Regions from separate parts of the Homo sapiens genome. Here region 2 is linked to region 1. Evidence: promoter capture Hi-C in 16 types of primary human blood cells and fetal thymus (Javierre and others, 2016). All regions are on one chromosome and are shown on one strand. The core of a region is centred on a gene start or on the middle of the fragment in contact, and the rest is flanking DNA. Distances in the headings are between cores, read along the strand shown. Region 1 holds the start of SGO1 (shugoshin 1). Region 2 has its middle 8.1 kb from the start of TBC1D5.

What was found. The method cuts DNA at HindIII sites, captures the fragments that hold promoters and counts their contacts. A CHiCAGO score of 5 or more calls a contact.
Region 2: a fragment that was not itself captured here is called in contact with the fragment with the promoter of SGO1 in region 1 in 2 of 17 cell types (total CD4 T cells and non-activated CD4 T cells); the score reaches 7.7 in total CD4 T cells.

What each region holds. Positions count from the first base shown.
Region 1 is chr3:20,184,764-20,187,463 of GRCh38, reverse strand. It overlaps SGO1 (shugoshin 1), which reads left to right and starts at 1,258. Exons shown (of 8, transcript NM_001199251.3): 1 at 1,258-1,516. SGO1-AS1 (SGO1 antisense RNA 1) reads right to left here. Exons shown (of 4, transcript NR_132785.1): 4 at 1,349-1,489. RefSeq lists enhancers at 781-840, 861-1,540. The HindIII fragment of the contact is 754 bases long and covers 981-1,734 here.
Region 2 is chr3:17,749,389-17,752,088 of GRCh38, reverse strand. No RefSeq gene overlaps it. Among named protein-coding and RNA genes, the nearest start is that of TBC1D5, 8.1 kb to the right of the region's middle. The HindIII fragment of the contact is 6,255 bases long and covers 1-2,700 here.

The sequences.
Region 1 (2,700 bases), core at 9-2,508:
TATTGTCCCAGTGAATATTTACTACTTACTTCAAATTGCAACGAGATGCTGACAATTTAGCTATGAACAAAGCAGATGTAGTTCCTGCCCTTATTCAACTTCAAGAAACAGGCAATGAACGACAAGTCAGTGTCACAAGGAATACCAAGGGGAAAATGCAGGGCACTAAGAAAGTGTAAAGCAGACACTCAGGGGCTTTAGGGGTAGATAAGTCTTTCTGGAAGAATTCATCTGTACAGTGAAACTTCAGTATACATAGGAGTAAGTTCGGCCAAGGGAAAGAGTGTTCTTGACAGAACAGCATTGGCAAAAGTGGCAAGAATTTTAAGAAAATTAAAGAAAATGTACAAGTGATGGAACCAGGAATCATGGGGCTCTTTAAGGACAAAATATCTTAAAGGAGTTTGAAATTCACCTTAAATGCAATAGGGAGCCATTGTAAAGTTTCCTATTTGATACTTGTTTTGTAAAAATATTAATCTATGAAGAATATAGGGAGTGGAGTCTGCGGTCAGAGTGGGTACTAGTGCAATTTAGGGAATGAGATTAGGCTGGAAGCTGGATTGGGGGGAAAAAGATGGGCATGAGAGAAACTTGGAAAGCAGAGTTGAGAAGATCGTGTGACCGACTGGACGGGCAAAGGTTAAGAGAGGATAAATAATCATTAAGGACGATTTCTCAGGCTTCTAGTCGGTAACTGGATGGATGTTGGTGCCATTTCTCGAGAAGAGTTAAAGAGCCAGAGATAGCCGGCAAAGAGAAACATGGAGCTAGAATTTTCAGGTATCTGCAGTTTCCCTAATACCTTTTTAATCCAGAATTTGCTCCTTGTTTTGGTTTTAATTCCTCTAAAAGCTGCTTCCGTGTTGCAAGCTGGCTGACCGCTTTAACAGGCAACCAAAGAGATTCTTCTCACAAGAGGGAGGCTTTGAGCACAACCCGGGACATTTGAAGCTGTCAGACTGAAGAAACAGGAAGCTTTGAACTACCTATCACACTCGGCCTTAAAGGTTTCGGAGTAACTCCACCCGTAAAATCCCCACGACTCTGATTAGAAAGTCCCGGCGGGTCGCCGAGACCCGACCGCAGGCTCCGCCCCAGGGCCAGGTGGATGCCCGGATGTGGACTTGAGCGAATGTGCGTCACGTGACGTCGCCTGGCGGGGCGGGACTCTGCCTGCGACGGTGGTGTTGGGTGCATCCTGCGCCACGTGACCGCCTCCCAGCCAACCAATGGAGGAGCGAGGCGGAAAATTTCGAATGTGGCGGCGGTAGTTCCAGGCGACGGCGGACGGTGGTACGGTCCTGGAGGGCCCAGTGCGCGGGGCTAGCCGTGGCTGGAGAGCTTCGAAGAGCCTTGAAATGTGAGGAGGAGGAAGATAGCTGTTGCAGAAGTAGTGGCCAAGGTATCGTTCTGGACGCGCCTGCGGCAGGAGGGTCGCCGCGTCCACTTCCGCCAGCCCCACCTCCCCCCGGCCTTCCTGGAGTCCCTGAAAGAGGAAGAAGTAGGTTTTAAGGTGCGAAACAAGGGCGTAGTGATCCCTGTTTGACTTCCCTTCGGTTTTCAGTATCATTCTAAATTCGGTGGCCGAAAGCTCGGGCCGTGGAGTCCCACTCGCCGCGCTTTTCGCCGTTCAGCCACTCGATCTGCGCTTTCAGATGTTCCGGCTTCCATGGAGACCCTAATTTCCTACTTTGCAAAATTGTGTAGATTAAGTGATGTGCAAATAAAGCTTTTACAATAGCTAAAAGCCTGGCTCAACGTAAGGACACAAGAAAATTGACAGCAGTTCTTTGTGCAGCGTGATACCGTTGACGTCCTCCTTGTCCAGGCCATTCTCTTCCTCACTTACCCTGGAGAGGCCGGCACTGACTAGTATCCTACCTGGCTGTCTTCGCAGCAGGACTAATTGGAGAATTATGGACGGAGATCAAATATGCTAGGTTCTTTAAATCCAGAGCGCTTACACGAGTACTGTACAGATTGAGACCGTCATCTCGCGCTGTGGTCTGTCTTTGCTTTCATCCCTTCTGTCTACCACACCCCCTGCTAATAACCATCGCCTTATTTAGACAGGATATAAAACTTTTGATATGGCAAGTTTCTTTTGTGATTTTTAACTTGATTAAAAGTAATAACGAAAGCTTTTTAGGTAAGGCTTTGCCTTTAAAATACCTTAACTAAACTAGATCCGTTACTTAATCTGTATGACTCTCAAACATCTCCAATTCTAACTTAATTGTGTAAAACAACCCCTTTACCGTTCGTGCTTTTAAAAATAGCTACCCTATCTCTGCTAGGAACCTCCCAGTACATATTGTATATACCTTGGTAGAAAGAAAGTTCTTAAGTGGTATCTACAATACCTATATTTAAGATTCCAGACACTGCATAGAGGAAAATAAGGCCTGGAGGAAATACTCAAGATTAAGTGTAAGGTTTAGGAAAATATTTGACTATCGTAGAGGAGATGAAGATATCCTTTGTAGTGAAAATTCTGTGCATAGATTGTTATTGGAAACAAGTCTTTTTTTTTTGCAATTTTAAGATCTGCAAAGTGCAATCTAGCGTAAAAGATGTTTGTGAAAAGTGGTTTGACATGTTTAGTAGCATGCTAAAGCCTACCTGATTTGCAACGTTGAAAGATTAAGTATAGTTATGTATTTAATACTCAACGTTTAACTGTATGTACAACAATAT
Region 2 (2,700 bases), core at 32-2,531, 2.4 Mb after region 1:
CTCCCAAAGTGCTGGGATTATGGGCATAAGCCACTGTGCCTATTTACTCTTATTCATTTCAAACATTTATTGAATACCTACCAAATGCAACACACTTCTTAAAACACTGAGGATTCAGAGACAAGAAATACTGCTTGCCCTTGAGGGGCTCATAGTCTATGGAATGTCAGACATTTAAGCATTTAAGCAGCTGCTCATAACATATTGGGGCAAACACTCTAACAGGGATATGGAACTAAATGGTGTAAGCCAGTTGCTTTTTTTTTTTTTTTTTTTTTTGAGATAGAGTCTTGCTCTGTCTCCAGGCTGGAGTGCAGTGGCGTGATCTCAGCTCACTGCAACCTCCGCCTCCCAGGTTCAAGCGATTCTCCTGCCTCAGCCTCCCCAATAGCTGGGATTACAGGTATGCACCACCATGCCCAGTTAATTTTTGTATTTTTAGTAGAGACGGGGTTTCACCATGTTGGCCAGGATGGTCTTGATTTCTTGACCTTGTGGTCTGCCTGTCTTGGCCTCCCAAAGTGCTGGGATTACAGGCGTGAGCCACCGCTCCCAGCCCATGTTGCTTACTTAAGGTTTTTTGGCACAACATTTTAAGCCTGTACCTGGAAAAAATGTAGGAGTCTCATCTGGCATAAGAAACACTATAAAATCATGTTGAAAAATGTTTATTAGGGAAACACCTGTGCATACCAGACCAAGAATAAGTAATCCAATGGAAATAAATGCTATCACAGAGAACATATGATTCAAGGAAATGAATTTACCTACTTAATTGTGATCACGACTCCATTATCCTTTCACAAAACTGTTGAAAATCAACACTGATAATCTCCCACCAATGAGGAAGGATAATGTTTTGAAATAAGGTGCTTTCAGAACAAAAGTTAAGACATTAGTTTTACTGCTGTGCTATTTAGGCATACTAGTGGGCATATCATTGGAGACATTTGGGCAGTATAGCAAAAATACCTTTGTCTTTTTAATATCCAAAGTAAAGTCCAGAGTTTGCTATTTTGTATGTGCAAGCATTGAATTTCAATAATTATCGTTATATGTAGAATAAGCTGCTCTTCCTGCATACTGCTTTTTCTGATGAAGACTCAGAGATAATACTTATTAATTGTTATTAGTAAGAATTATTAACAAATAATTTATCAATAATTTATTATAATTATTATTGCACTATACATACATAATTATTTTATATATAGATACATAAATTGAATGGTTACTTTGATAGATATATAAATTGAATGGTTACTTTGTGCTAAATACCTAACAGGAGATTATCTCATTTAATGCTCTTAATGCTCACAACAACCTAACAAGTTAGGGACTATTATTATCCCTATCTTACAGATGAAACTGGAGCCACAGAGGTTAAGTAACTTAATTAATTCACTTTAGGTTACGTCATTAACAAGTAAGGGAGCTAGGATATGAACTTGGACAATTCTACTCCTGAGTCTATGCACTTAACTTCTTAGTTTATATTCCCTCCTAATGTTTCTGACTACACCATGATCTTTACAACTTTGAGCACAGTTGCACTGGTGTTAATCAAAAGCATAATGGTGCAAACATGAGCCTTGTAATATCAACGCATTTGACATTTCTCAGGTATCCATAAATGTTGACATCATATCCTTTAAGGGCAAATGAATTAATTTATTTATGATTTTTAAATTGATCTAGATAGGCTTTCATGAGATTCTCTGCCTATCAACTTAGTTAACAGAATACAATACCATACATACATACATATATATATATATATATATGTGTAGGTATATAATACCTTATATATTGTATTAGGTAGAGTATGCAGCTTTAAAGCAAGACAGAAAAAATTCAGTGGCTTAAATAAGGTAGAAGTTTATTTCTCTCTAATTTAAATGTGTAGTGAGGCAGTCTGGGTTGGATAGGCAGTACTTTACCAAGCAATACAGGGTTGCAGTTTCCTGCAATCTGGTTGCTCTGCTGGGCTCTGCACATTGGAACCTGAGTCATTACTATATCTGTGTTCCCGGTAGCAAGAATAGAGAAGGAGAGGCAGTGTAGGGCACGAAACTTGTGTATGGAAGTGTAGGGAAGAAGAGAAAAATAGATTTGGAAAGGAGGAGGAGGTATACACAGGTATGCAGACACCACATACAAATCAATTTCTGGTTTTAGCATTTTGAGGGCAGACTTTCTGAAGAATAATTTCACTTTCATTTTCTATGACTAGGATGAGATTTAAAATGACTTTACAGCCACTCCCTAATATCACCGATCAATTGGTTGAGCACCTCACACTCTTTACTTACAAGGTTAGTTTATTAGGTGAAAGAGTTTTGAAATTATGGATGAGAAGAATGATATATATATGTGCTGGGTAACTAACACAAGGAATGGAGTGAACAAATATTGTTTTGTCTGCCAAGTATCTCTCCCTACTCTGCCAAATAGCCATGACCCTTCTTTAGGAAACAGACTCTCTCCTACTCTTTGTGGTTGTTGGTGGGAGGGTAAGCAGAGGAGGTGCCCCTTGCAGGTCTCTGCTATGCATACAGTCATGTCCTGAAGAAAGATGCCCTAAGTAGTTCTCTCTGCATAACACCACTCTGTATGTACCACAGGATGACCTCAGCCCTGGGGCCCCATTAACATGATCTCTTCCTGTGTCTTGTCAGCTGAGGGGTAGTTGAGTTCCCT